Regions from separate parts of the Homo sapiens genome. Here all the other regions are linked to region 1. The links are contacts of gene promoters, found by promoter capture Hi-C in blood cells and fetal thymus (Javierre and others, 2016). All regions are on one chromosome and are shown on one strand. The core of a region is centred on a gene start or on the middle of the fragment in contact, and the rest is flanking DNA. Distances in the headings are between cores, read along the strand shown. Region 1 holds the start of TSPAN18 (tetraspanin 18). Region 2 has its middle 9.6 kb from the start of LINC02696. Region 3 has its middle 14 kb from the start of SYT13.

Region 1 (4,622 bases), core at 1,522-4,021:
GCCATGCCCAGCTAATTTTTGTATTTTTAGTAGAGACGGGGTTTCACCATGTTGGCCAGGAGGGTTTCAATCTCCTGACCTCGTGATCCACCCACCTAGGCCTCCCAAAGTGTTGGGATTACAGGTGTGAGCCACTGCACCCAGCCCACAATTACTTTTGCACCAATACATAGAATTATGTTTCCCAATTGAGAGGACATTCGAGATGTTCAAGGAAATTAAGGTCATTGGAGGTAATCCAAGGGCCTCCAATACCCTAATTGACCTGGTGAGGAGTGGGAGTGGAGGGGGTCCCTTCCCAATTCTCTTTTCATCAATGCTCTTGATGAAGAGTTTGTTGCTAATGTGTCTTTAACACCTTTCTAGCCTTTGGTAACCTTCCTTTCAAAGAGAAAGTGGGACCTCAGCTTCAACACCTCCTCAGGCAGCAGTATCTTGTTAGACTGTATTATTATTATTGTGGTTAAAGATACATTGTTAGAATTTAATAACACTTATTTTCATTGTATTTATTTTGATGGTTACCTTCTATTTATAGTAATGTGATGCTGGCTTTCCATTTATGGTAATAATTTAACATATCTTTTTAAAAACAAGCTCACTTAAGTAAATTAAAAAAGAATGAAAAAATAAGAGTTGATTTAGAGAAGCCTATTCAGCAGATGTCCTTAGCTAATGCACAGATAGGGCCAGGTCCTCCATGGAGGCTGGAGAGAGGCTGAGGTCCAGGAAACTGACTTGGAACTGGAGTCAGGGACCGAGCTGGTTGTCTAAGTTGTGCAGCGGGTCTGCACTCTCTTCCCCTGCGCCTGCCCCGTTCTGCCAAGCCCCAGACCCTTAGAGACTCTATCCCTCTCTCTGCCTGTCTCTGGTCTCCACTTCCCCAGCTCCAGCACCCTTGCTGTGGGCTTCCCGTTTTTCCTCTTTAAATGTATGTGGCGCCTGGTGTCCAAGGAGGCTCACACGGGGCCTCTCCCAGCAGCATTCCACAAGTGCAGGGCCTGTGGGGTGTTCAGCCTCCACCCTCCATTCTGTTTTGGCAGCTGAAGGGTGAATGTGGAGCCCTTCTCCTTGTCCTCCTCTTATAGAAATTCCACCATTAGGGACTTCCTCCCCTTGGGTGAAGCTTTGCTCACTCTGGGTCCCTTTGAAACCGCGGATCCAGGGATTTTTCTTCCAGCCACGTGCCTACTCTAAGAGTCCCGGTGACGCGGTGAAGTTCTTTAAAGGACCAGACATCCCTGAAGTCCTTACAGGGACATCCCCTTACAGGGACGAATCCATTTCCTGGAATGTGGGCAAGGAAAGGCAGCCACTTCCTGCCTCTCAAAACTCTGGCTGGTGGCTGGGTGCAGTGGCTACGTCTGTCATCTCAGCACTTTGGGAGACTGAGGTGGGAGGATCACTTGAGGCCAGGAATTGGAGACCAGCCTGGGCAACATGGTAAGAGTCCAGCTCTACAAAACACACACGCACACACACACACACACACACACACACACACACACACACACCAAAAACAACAGAAAACATTAGCCAGGCATGATGGCACATGCCTCTGGTCCCAGCTACTCGAGGGGGCTGAGTTGGAAGGATTGGATTGCTTGAGCCCAGGAGGTCGAGCCTACAGTAAGCCGTGCAGGAGGTCGGGCTACAGTGAGCTGTGCTTGTTGACCAGGCTTGTCCAGCCTGGTCAGCAGAGCGAGACCTTGTCTCAAAAACAAAACAAAAACAAAACAAGAAGATCCCCCTCCCCCCAAACTCTGCCCAGTGGCCTGACTACCAACATCCATATACAAGACAGGAGTAGGGTCAACTCCTTCCTATCAGTCACCCCTTAGTGAGAATCAGCTGGCCAAGGGGCCTCCTGCAGAGCTGATGTGTGCTTGAATGCCTAGGGCCCACGGGGATGGGGTGTGGAAGCTTCAAGCTGGGACTCAAAACAGAGTTGCCAAGGGAAGAGGAGTGGGCGACCCGAGCCCCTGTCATCAGTACTTTCACTTGGGCTGTCAGTTTTGATCTGCTTGCTTGTCCGTTTTGTCTGGGGCAGGGTCGGGTAGTTGTTTAGAGGAGGCTCAGAGGTTAAAAGTCTCAGGCAAGTCATGTCAGGGGTTGGGAGCCAGTGCTGCTGTGGCAGCAGTACAGAGAAGAAAAGATAAGCTCCCCAGCCCCGCAAGAACCTCAGCCCTGAGGCCGGAGACACAGATCTGGCCCCTTGCAATCAAGTCATTTGCATCTGACCTGGGGTCAGGCCCCTCCATGCAGGAAGTCCCCTTTCTTATCTGCAAGTCAGAGGAGGGTGAGTTCCCCAGGCTTTCAACAGGTACTTCCCCCGGCAGCGGGAAGCCCAGGAGCCCGATCAGGACCGAGGATCTCACCCCAACCCCTGCGTTTGGGCCCCGGGGTCAGCTGAAAGTTCCCCTGGAATAAACACTTCGGGTCCAGCATGCCCCTCTCCCCACTCCCGCAACGATCTTCCGAATTCAGACGCAGAGAGGGCCCGCGAGCAGAGCGGGAGGTGGTCGGAGGCGGAGGAAGGGGAGATGGGCAGAGGGTGGGCCCAGGGACCCCCAGACAAGGCCTGGACGCGGGGTTGGAGGAGGAGGCGGAGGCTGGCGGGAGGCGAGGGGCAGCCCGCAGAGGAGACGCGCTTCTCGGCAGCAACGGCGTCTGGAGCCGGGAGGGGCGGAGGTTTGGGGAGGGGGAGGGAGGGCGGGGGAGGGGAGGGACGGACGGCGGCGGAGGTGGGGCCGGCGGGCTGGCGGGCGTGCAGCTGCCGCCGGCGTCGCGGGGCTCCAGGCTGCGGGGCGGACGTAGCGCCGAGCGATCCACCGCGGAGCCGCGCGAGGCCGCCCGAGCCCCAGCCCCGGCCCCGGCCCCAGCCCCGGCCCCGGCCCCGGCCCCGGCCCCGGCCCCGGTCCCGGCCCCGAGCCCCGAGCGAGCGCCGCCGCCTCGCGCTGCGGGTCCCCGGACGCGCCGCCACCGCCGGGAAGGCAGCCGGCGCCGGGCAAGTTGCGAGCGCGCCCCTCCGACCAGGAAAGTTTCCCCCCGGCCGCCGGCGGGATTTGGCGCGGGGTCCGGCAGCCGCCGCTGGAAGGTATGGGGCTCCGCACCTCCGTGCCCTCCGCACGCCGCCGCCGCGCCCCCGGGGACCTGGGGACCCCCCCGCGCGCCGCCCCGGGGGTGCTGCTGGACGCGGCGGGGAATTGGGGTGGAGTAGGGATCCCAGGACGGAAGCCCGGCAACCAAGTTCCACTCAAACTAGCACGCGGGGGCTGGGGGGCCGGGGACGGTCTCCACCCCGTGCCTGCCCGGAGTCCGCTGAGGGCCGGGGGCTGCGCCCAGGACAGGTGCAGAGCCGGTGGGCTCCCAGTGCTCCGGGTGGAGGAGTGGGGGCTTCTGGAGAACGGCGCGGGGTGGCAGGTGTGGTTACAAGGTTCGGGGTTTCGGCCAGGGCTGCGCCCGGAAAGGGGCTGCTCGCCACGCCACCCGGTAAGACAGTGAGGGACCAGGGACTGGGAGCGGCGATCGGGGCCGGGAGGGCTGTGGGGCCCGGCAGCTGCATGGAGGGCGGGCTGCCTTTGGGGTCCCTGGCAGCGGGGCGGGGCGGGGCGGAGGCGCCACTCGTTCCTCCAGGACCCCCCTTATTCCTTAGGTGTGTGCGGTTTGGGGAAGTGGAGACTCCATGGAGTGCTGGGTGGGTGGGAGGCTCGGGCACGTCCAGATTTAGGGGGCAGTGGGAGCCAGTTGGGACGGTGCTCGGCTCGGGTGGGATCGCGCCGGCTCCGGGTCCTGCTGGAGTGAGGTGACTGGGCTCCCGCCAGGGGGCGCACTGCCCCGGCCCTCGCCAGCAGGAAGCGCGTTCTGGCTCCTGCGAGGCAACCGCGCCGACATCCAGGACGCAGGGACCACAGACACCCAACTTACGCGGGGTCCCGCCCCGAGGAGCCCGCCCTACACTAGCCAGACGGGGGAGCGGGACCAAGAGTGAGGCGAAAGGTTCACAGTTATAACTGCGCCGTGGGCTGGAAAGGCTAGGAGTCAGGATGTGATTTTTCTCGGGAAGGCTGCCAGGGCAAATGGATGAGTAAGAAATTTACCCCCAGAAAAAGATGTAAGAAACTACAACTGCGAATTGGTGCAGAGAGAGTGGGTTGGGGAATTAACTTTTTGACGGTTTTTGGAGTTGCAGAAACCCAAACCCCAAAATGCATGCACCCTTTTTGTAAAAGTTGCACCTTTGTTTCCTGGATCTGGTCGAATCCCTGTCTGGTGAAGGCAGGATGGGGGTCTTGGGGTATCCTCTCTCTGGGCACAAGTAAACTGGGAGGCACAGGGCGGGCGGTGGGGGATGGGGCCTTAAAGACTTCAGCAGTCCAGGCAGAAGTGTTAAATTTCTCAGCAGTCAACGAGCCCTGGCCCCCACCCTCATCCCCTGGGTCTGTGGTCTCTAGGCCACATTCTTCTGGTCATTTCACAATTATTGGTGGAAATCTGCCCTGGGTCCCAGTTGTCTGGCCTCAGGGTCCCTGTATGTTGAGTCTGTGTGTCTGTGCCTTGGGAAGTCGACGGCTGCTGGCATCTGTGAGGACTGTCATCTTTGTCATGTGCGGGGCTAACAT
Region 2 (4,622 bases), core at 1,182-3,681, 620 kb after region 1:
TAATTACTTATCCACATTCTCATTTTCTTACCTGGGTTACATTTCCAAAGGTAGGATTACCTCATCAAAGGATATGCACATTTTTAAGGCTTTGATGCACATTGCTTCACTAACCTCAGGAAAAGTAGTGATAAATTATACCCCAGGGATGGCTATTGTCCCCAGGGACAATGCTGATCTTTATATGCAGGGTCTAGAGCAAAGCATTGCATATAATAAGAGCTGATTAAATATGCATAGATTGTAATTTGAGCATAATAAATCCAGACTCTTTCAAGCACACTATCTGCAGTTCTTCTGTCTGCTGTTAGCCCTCCAAGAGACAGAGTAAAGAATTGTTCATAAAAATGAGAGAAAGGTAAGGGATGATGAAAAGAAAGTGGAACAATATCTCAGGGGAGTGTGCCATTTAATAATACCCTAGGTCATTACACAGCACTTTCACTGAAATATAGGTGTTAATGGCCCACTTATGAACATTTCTACTCCAACATAAATTAGAGTCTAAATTATTTAAACCATCCCAATGTAACCATACCAGGCAAAAGTCGGGTACATAGAAGTACCATGGCTTAGAGGTAAAAGACCATGGAGAAAATAATTATCATAATATCCAACCTCCCAATAAACATGATGGAATTGCCACTTGGGAATCCACACCCTCCCTTCAATATCCAACGTAACCAGCTTAGGGAAAGCACTTCAAAGAAGTGTGGGTGAAGATAAAGGAACACTTAGTTACAATCTGAGCTCACCCTGCAAGCTTTGATTTCTGACTATTCTTAGGACTTGTTTCTTTCAAATCCTCAGACTAGAGGGCTTGGTTCATTTTGACAGAGAAAGATAATCATTGAAAAACAGAAGGAGGTTTGGTTTAGCCTTACAATGGTTTCTATGTTAAGCCTCACAAATGAAAGTCATATTAAACTGGATTTATTCATCCCTGACATCAAAGAAAGGAGAATGAAGGAGAAAAAAACGTATTAAAACTTGCAAAAAATAATCTTTCTATAAAACCTGACATTTATGAACATAACTCAAAGAAATACCTAAAAATTAATCTGTGGATTACACCAATTTAAAATGTATGGGAAGAATACAAGTAGGAAGAGGGGGAAAACAAACAAAGGGAAATATATTGACATTCTGAAGTCTCTTTTCATTTAACAACAAATATTTTCAAAGAACACAAGGCTTTCTCAGTCATTAACAATTCATTTTTTTATAAGCTACATTCAATTTTAATCATCTACAATATATGAAAAATCCCCCTCAGGATTACCTGCACAAAATTGCAAAAGAAAAAAAAATTGTAAGATTATATGACAGTTTCAAAGCTGAATTACAAATGTATGCACCCAGCAGCAGATAAAAATGAAGGAGAATACGGGAATGATTAAGTTTTCAATTTCCCTACAATGACTTGATGTTAATTTCAATTCACTTACAAGCCTCTTTGTAAAGGATTAATAAAGAAAAGAAATAATCTGATGGTTTGACAACATGAAGGTACTGGGAAATTATTTCCCTGAGAGATTGTCATTTAGAAGCTGGATAAGTTTCTGATTCACTTGCGGCCTCAGTTTCTCATCTTTAAACTGGGAATTGGGAAATGACAATGATGATTCCCCAGTAGGATTCATGTGAGGATTTCATGAGATGATGGAATTCAAATGTTGTGCAGATGGCAGGGACTCACTTAAAAATAGCCATTTTTATTGACATGGGCATGGCAAAAATTTAAAGTGCCTGTGATAAAGATCATCAGTGAATCTCATACAATAGACTTTTCTAAACTTTGCCCTTCCTTCTCTTTAATTCTTTGATATCTACAGTATAACCAGTAATATGTTCTGCTTTGAGTGTCTTAAGATGGAAAACATCAACAAGCAACAATACTTTGCATTGAGTACTTACTACATGCCAGGTGCTTTATGTCATCTCAAACAGTCCTCACAACAAACCTATTGCGTAGGCACTACTCATCTTAGTTTGCCAATAACAAAATTGAGACCTAAATAAGTTAAGGAGTTTTCCAAATGGCTGGAGGCAGCACAGAGGTTAAAAGCATGAGCTCTGGAGCCAAGCTGCCTCAGTTTCCCTATTGAGGGAAATTGGGATGGGTAGTATATTTGACAGTGTTCTCTAGAGAAATAGAACTAATAGGATGTGGGTGTGGGGGCGCTGAGGGGAAGCAGTGTGGGAGAGAGAGAGACTTTATGTTAGGGAATTGGTTCATGCAATGGTGGGGGCTGGAAAATGCAAACTTTGCAGTGGTGACTGGCAGTCTGGAAATTCCAGCAGAAGTTGATTGTTGCAGTTTTGAGTCCAAAGGCAGTCTGGAGGCAGAGTTCTGTCCTCCTGGCGGGACCTCAATCTTTTTTCTTAAGGCCTTCAACTGATTGGAGGAGACCTACTCACATTAAAGAGGGTAATGTACTTTACTCAAAGTCTACTGATTCAAATGTTAATCACCTAAAATCACCTAAAAAAATACCTTCCCAGCAACATCTGGACTGGTGCTTGACCTAGCAACTGGGTGCTACAACCTACCACATTGACACATAAAATTAACCACCACTGGGGGTAAGAACATTACCTACCTCGCATGGTTTGGAAGGATTAAATAATATAAATCATGCACAGTACTTGGTATGCCTGAGGCCCTCAGTGTCTTTATTTTCTTATGGACAGAGCCTGCTAAGGAGGAAGCAGTCCATAGGTGTTAGCTATTGTTATAAAGGGACACAGCCATATTAGAACCCAGGTCATTTGCCTCCAGAGCTGATTGTCAACTTTTAAACCTGTACTGTCCAATATGATAACAGTCAGAGAGATGTGACTACTTACCATGTGTACGTGGCTAGTGTGACTAAAATTTAAATCTCATTTCAAAACCAAAGCACAGTAATTTGTTTGTTTGTTTGAGATGGAGTCTCCCTCTGTCACCAGGCTGGAGTGCAGTGGCACGATCTCGGCTCACTGCTATCTCCGCCTCCCAGGTTCAAGCCCCCCTCCCCTGCTTCAGCCTCCTGAGTAGCGGTGACTACAGGCTCGCACCACCACGCCCGGCTAATTTTTTGGTAGAGATGGGGTTTCACCATGTTGACCAGGATGGTCTTGATCTCTTGACCTCATGATCCGCCTGCCTTGGTCTCCCAAAGAGCAGAGTGAATTTTTAAGCATTGAAATGGCCTGAGTACTAGATATATTTAGTTAAATAAAATATACTATCAAAATTAATTTCATCTTTTACTTTTTGCTTTTGTAAATGTGGCTACTAGAAAAATCTAAATAACACACATGGCTTGCATCATATATTTCTTGTACGGTGCTACTCTAAGCATGGCGCCTTCCCAGGGGTACACAGGCCTGGCGTGTGAACACAAGCCCTCCACAGGACAGGCTAAGCAGCGAAAACACTGCACCAGTGCATCTTAACGTCAGCGAGGCTACCCAACTTCTTAAAAAAAAAAATCTTAACAGTAGCACCACCCACAAAGGAAATAAGTAAACTGGACTTTATTAAAATTAGCTCTTTTGCCTATCAAAAGACACTACTAATAGGGTAAAACAGCAAACTACAGATTTGGAAAAGATATTTGCAATTCATATAGCCAAACAGTGGACTTATATTTAGGATATATAACAAATTCCTGTGAATCAATTTTTTAAAAAAGGAATAAAACTCAATAGAAAAATGTGTGAAATATTTGAACAGGCATTTTAGAAAACAAGGTGTCCAAATGGCCAATAAACACATTACATGCAAATTAAAACATAATGGCTGAAATGAAAATGATGGAAAAATATCAAATGCTGACAAAGATGAAACAACTGAAATTCTTACATATCGCTAGTATGGTATAAATTGGTATGACCATGTTGGAGGATTTTTTTTTCCTGCCAAGTAAAAGCATGCTTCCTTCCACTAACACCCCCCTCGGTGCAGGAAAATTAATCTCTAACTTAAAAAGCCAGCGTTTCAAAATGTATAAAATAATGAGGCAGAGAGAAGGCCTCGGGCCTTGCCACACTGGAAGGTATCATCAGCAGTTAATTGAGCCACAGGGAGGCTGAGAGCAGGATTGCAAATATGGTAAGCTTCACAAATGACAAAATATAGTGCCTGACCTTTTTAAAGCAGATCTCGTGGGCTCCTCACAAACTGCAGGGCATTCTTTGAGGTCGGGAACCAGAGGGGCCCTGCAAGGGGCTTTGGTGAGGCAGGCGAGAGTCTGCTAGGAGAGTTGCTTTCACATTAAGCCATAAAACAATTTTCTTTGGAAAAAAATGTGTTTGTAACAAATGCCCCGCAGAATTATACTACATCACTGAAAACTGAACATTTGCAAAGCTTTGCTCAGGACTTTGTTATCATGCTCTGCCCTAAATCTAAGAGTAAAGAGTTATTCTTGTCAGGCATCTGCTTTTGAAGTTCCTGGCTAAGTCAAATAGTGCATGAGGCTCCACAGCAGCTCTTAATCAGGAAAACGGAGAGATGATTGTCGTTAACATAAAACACGGAACCCTGGGACCAGCTTTCTGTCTGCCCCAAAAACCAGCTGCTTCCAAGCCCCTCTAATTCCTGGTTCTCTGGGAAGGTGCTAGTCCAGTGACTT
Region 3 (4,622 bases), core at 960-3,459, 570 kb after region 1:
ATCACCTGAGGTCAGGAGTTCAAGACCAGTCTGGCCAATGTGGTGAAACCCCGTCTCTACTAAAAATACAAAAATTAGTTGGGCATGGTGGCAGGCACCTTTACTCCCAGCTACTCAGGAGGCTGAGGCAGGAGAATCACTTGAACCCAGGAGGTTGCAGTGAGCCAAGATCGTGCCATTGCACTCCAGCCCAGACTACAAGAGCAAAACTCCGTCTCATTATATATATATAGATAGATATATAGATATAGATATATATAGTAAGATGCTCTGTCAAATCAGGGCAGGACTATTGGACTCTCTCACATACATGATCAGGGAGAAAAGCCTTTGGCTCTGTTAGACTTCTTATTTTAATAAATAAATGAGGAGGGGTTTTTTTGCTTTTTGTTTTGTCTTTAAATTAAGATGGGAAATCGACGTTTTTTAACAAACTTCCCACATGCTGCTGGTGTGGATGGGCCATGGAGCACAGTTTGAGAAGCATCAATAATTTGGCTGTGCCTCAAGAGGAGGGCAGGGCCTTGAGTTCTTTTTTTGCTTCCCCGGAACCAACTTTCTAGCGACACCTACCTGCCCTGCAGAAACTCCCCCCACTGAACTCCGAGGCTCTGTGGTGTGCAGGTGAGCCTGAACCAGCCCTGGCTCTGCAGACAAGCCTCGCATGGGACCTCGGCAAAGTTACTTCCCCTCTAGGGGCCCCAGTTGCCTTAATTAACCCCATAGGGTTTTTGTAAGGATTGAGTTAACACAGGCAAAGTGCTTAGAACAGCAGCCATTGCATGTGAAAGGGCCTATGAATACTCGTTATTGTTGTTGTTAATCAGAGTTTTTCCGCCTTTCCCACCATATCTAGTAAGGGCCTGAGGGCATGAAGTGATAGTGGTGAACATGCACTTTCTTGCAAGTCTCTGTAGTTTTACCATTTTAACAAAATGAGTCTGATTTTGTATTCTCCTCCACCATAGATTTTTTTTCGAGACAGCTTCTCGCTCTGTCGCCAGGCTAGAGTGCAGTGGTGCAATCTCGGCTCACTGCAACCTCTGCCTCCACGGTTCAAGTGATTCTCCTGCCTCAGCCTCCCAAGTAGCTGGGATTACAGGCGCCTGCCACAACCCCCAGCTAATTTTGTATTTTTATAGTAGAGATAGGGTTTCACCATATTGGCCAGGTTGACCTTGAACTCCTGACCTCAGGTGATCCACCCACCTTGGCCTCCCAAACTGCTGGGATTACAGGCATGAGCCACCATGCCTGGCTGACTCCCAGACCTTTACCTCTCCCTATGAGGCCTTCTTTGCCCTTTATGTAAAATTACCAGCTCTCCACCCATTGCCCCATAACTCCCTGTTCCCCATCGCCTTACTTTTTCAAACCCTTAGCACTTGTCATTATTTAATATTCCTTTTAATTCTAATTTTTGTATTTTTAATAGAGACAGGGTTTCACCATGTTGGCCAGGATGGTCTTGATATCTTGACTTCGTGATCCACCCGCCTCGGCCTCCCAAAGTGCTGGGATTACAGGCGTGAGCCATCGCGCCCGGCTTCCACCATAGATTTTATCAGCCCTGAAATAAAGTGTTTTAAGTCACACAAGGAGGAAAAACAAAAATTGGTCCTAGGTTTGTTTCTAAGGTTCCTGTTGCAGGCCCAGCACCCCTGTTTGAGATGCTCAGCTTTAAATTGCATATCTCTCTAGATAGCTCCCCATGCTTCCCAATGAAGCATCTCATTACATCTTCTTGATTGGCATTCTGGAGGCACAGGTGAGGCAAACACACCTACAGAGTTATAGCGTGCATCCTGGCTAATAGGGCTGAGTCTGGCTTCCGACTGCCTGGGTTCCAATGCCAGCCACTCCACTTAATAGCAATGACAATTTGCTGGATTTCTTTTAAGTCTCAGTTTCCTCATCTGTACTATGGGAGGGGGGCAGAAGGGAATAGCTATGTTATAAGGAATAAGTTAGGTCATCTAACTTGCCTGGCAACAAAATAATATTGGCCCTAGTTAGGTGGGGTCCTGATGGTAAATACAGGAGCCCAGAGCTTGTCCAAGGCACTCCCTTCAGTGAGCTCCCTGTTAACTGTATGTTAAGGGGTGTGTGCGTGCATGCGTGTGTCTCCTGGTTCAGAGGTTCTCACCTAGGGATAATGCTGCTCTCCAGGGGACATTTGACAACATCTGGAAAGAATTTTGATTGCCAAAACTAAGAGAGGGGGAGTTATCACTGGCATCTAGTTGGCGAAGGACAGAGATGCTGCTAAACATTCTACAGTGCACAAGACAGCGTCTTCAAACCAGCACAGAATCATCCACCCCCAAATGTCAGTAGTGCCAAGGTTAAGAAAGTCTACCCTGGTTAGAAAAGAAGCCCCACGAGAGCAGTGTCCATTATTCTTCTGTTCACTGCTGTATCCCCTGACCATAGCAGAGTGCTTGGTCCTCAAGAAATACTTGCTGAATGAATGAGTGATTGACATGAATGAGTGATAATCAAGATTCTTCGAAGGTAGAGACATCCATGGAGCTGGGTGAGCACAGGGTTTGTCTGTGGATCTGTTTCCCTCCCTGAAGAATCACTGAACCTTGGAGAGAGGGTCCCAAGGCTGGGTGAGATCCAGGATACAGGGCCTCTCTGGGGGCTGGATGGTGGATTGCAGGATCATGCAGTACACACCAGGCATACCATTCCAGGAAAGCAATCAGAAAACTCGGCCAGCAGCCGCCAAGAGTGGATACTCCCCTCAATGTCTCTTGGAGTCAGAGACCATGGGAGCCCTCCGGACCACAGGTATCTGGGAGTCAGGTACTTTGTTTGTACCTGACTCAGCCAGGATAGTTTGTCATCAGCAATTTTGAGTCATTTTGGTGGGGGCTGCAAAGCACTTAGAGTAAATCCTTTGAGGGCCTGTTGACAACAAAATAGTTCTTATTTCAGGGCCAATAATGCAATTCCCTTGCATCTCCTTTTTTAAGGTCATCATTCCCTGCCCTGGAAAATGCTATGTCCCAGTCCCAGCATTTCTGCAATTTTGAGAAGAAGGTCCACATCAGCAAATTCCAGCAACTCCCTGACTCTGGCCCCACATCCATTGGCTTCCCTGGTTCTGAGGCCTTTGGTCTTGGACAGAACCACCCTGCTGCCTTCCCTGGTTCTCCAGCTTGCAAGTGGCCTGTCGTGGGTCTTCTCAGTCTCCATAATCATATGAGCCAATTCCCCTAATAAATCCCTTCCTATATACCTATAAAATTTAAACAATTGATATTGTAATAATCCATTCTTTTATTTAACCCCTTTAGTGGGGCATATCTTTCCTCATCTTTTTTTCCTAAGCAAAAGAATCACTAAATCCTCACTTCCTTGGAAAGCAAAAACCAACAAAACCAAATGAACCTAACTTAGGCCTTGCCACTCCTGCAATTAGGAAGGGACTTAGGTCAGAGTGTGTGGTGGAGACACTTCGTTGGGAGGCAGGTGAAATGGATGACTTCCTTACCTAATATTTGTTTAGTACTTTGGCCTATGGAGGGCAGTGGAGTCTCTAACTGAGCTTAATTGTTATTGATGTTTAGTAAGCCATAAAACCCCAATTTCCTGCCTGCACCCCCAGCCATAAAATAACCATCTGCAGCAGCCCGTAAACACCCCCTGGTCACCAGGCTCCATTCGCAGCACCTGTGGAGCTGGTTAATGAGCATGAAGCCAAGGCCTCCTGGACAGTTCTTTCCTCCCCTCCTTTTTGCCTCAGTAGTTCCTCTGACCTGCTCCCCACCTGGGGCCTCCAAAGGCCTGGCTTTGCCACTGAGCAATGGCTGCAGCAGCAGCCCTGTACCCCAGGAAAGGCGAAGGGTCTGGGCTGGGAGCCAGTGGTCCCAAAGGCCTGATGTGCCTGGCCCTAAAAGTGGAGCATCAATCTTCTCCCTGAGCACACGAAGCTCAAGGGGCCCATCTCAGGGCAAAGGGAGAGCAGGAGCCCCGACCCCAGTAAACACCTCCTCCCAATGGACTAGGCCTTGCCGAGGGTGCAGCTGATGGCCTCAGTCTAGGAGGGCCCATTGCCATTGCTGTGAAAGGGCTCAGAAGCTGGGGCTCCACTTTCGGGCTGAACATAGAGGCTCAAGAGCCCTGTTATAAAATTTTCTGGGGTTTAAATACCCTTTAGAGGTTTCCCATTGGCCACTTCGTGTACACCCCATGTAAATGAAGTAGTGGCTCACAATCAGTCCGATTAGTTGGCTTGCAACCAATCAGAGGCTGAAGTGAAGTTACAAAGGTTACACTCTATACCAGCGTATTTAGCCTTTGACTGGTTGTGGGAAGCAACCAATCAGAGGCTAAAGTGAAATTACAACGTTGCACTTCCATGCAAAGAAAGACTTGGCCCGCAATCAGTCTGACTGGCTGAGGAAAGCAACCAATTAGAGGTCCTTTCAGTTTTCCATCTGCAACGCAGAAAAGGTTAGGGGGTGGTTTGCACAGAGAGTAGCCTCCAGTCCTTTCGTTACTTAGGTGTGGAACGTTGGGGTTTTCCCTTCGATTTAGTTCTAGGAAGGTGTGAATCGGCCTTAGGTTCCCTGCCTCCAGACCCTATATTCCTGCCTCACCAGAGGCCTGAT

What was found. Contacts are between HindIII fragments. The CHiCAGO score rates a contact against its expected background, and 5 or more counts as called.
Region 2: a contact is called between a fragment that was not itself captured here and the fragment with the promoter of TSPAN18 in region 1, in 1 of 17 cell types (naive CD4 T cells). The highest score is 5.4, in naive CD4 T cells.
Region 3: a contact is called between a fragment that was not itself captured here and the fragment with the promoter of TSPAN18 in region 1, in 1 of 17 cell types (M0 macrophages). The highest score is 5.1, in M0 macrophages.

The regions. Positions count from the first base shown.
Region 1 is chr11:44,724,191-44,728,812 of GRCh38, forward strand. TSPAN18 (tetraspanin 18) reads left to right here and starts at 2,772. Exons shown (of 10, transcript NM_130783.5): 1 at 2,772-3,097. All of the region lies in intron 2 of TSPAN18-AS1 (TSPAN18 antisense RNA 1), which reads right to left. RefSeq lists enhancers at 1,300-2,160, 2,161-3,022, 2,389-2,558, 4,274-4,622 and silencers at 2,749-2,898, 3,735-3,904. The HindIII fragment of the contact is 6,014 bases long and covers 1,922-4,622 here.
Region 2 is chr11:45,343,429-45,348,050 of GRCh38, forward strand. No RefSeq gene overlaps it. Among named protein-coding and RNA genes, the nearest start is that of LINC02696, 9.6 kb to the right of the region's middle. RefSeq lists an enhancer at 3,845-4,383. The HindIII fragment of the contact is 3,341 bases long and covers 762-4,102 here.
Region 3 is chr11:45,298,198-45,302,819 of GRCh38, forward strand. No RefSeq gene overlaps it. Among named protein-coding and RNA genes, the nearest start is that of SYT13, 14 kb to the left of the region's middle. RefSeq lists an enhancer at 494-1,038. The HindIII fragment of the contact is 5,523 bases long and covers 1-4,622 here.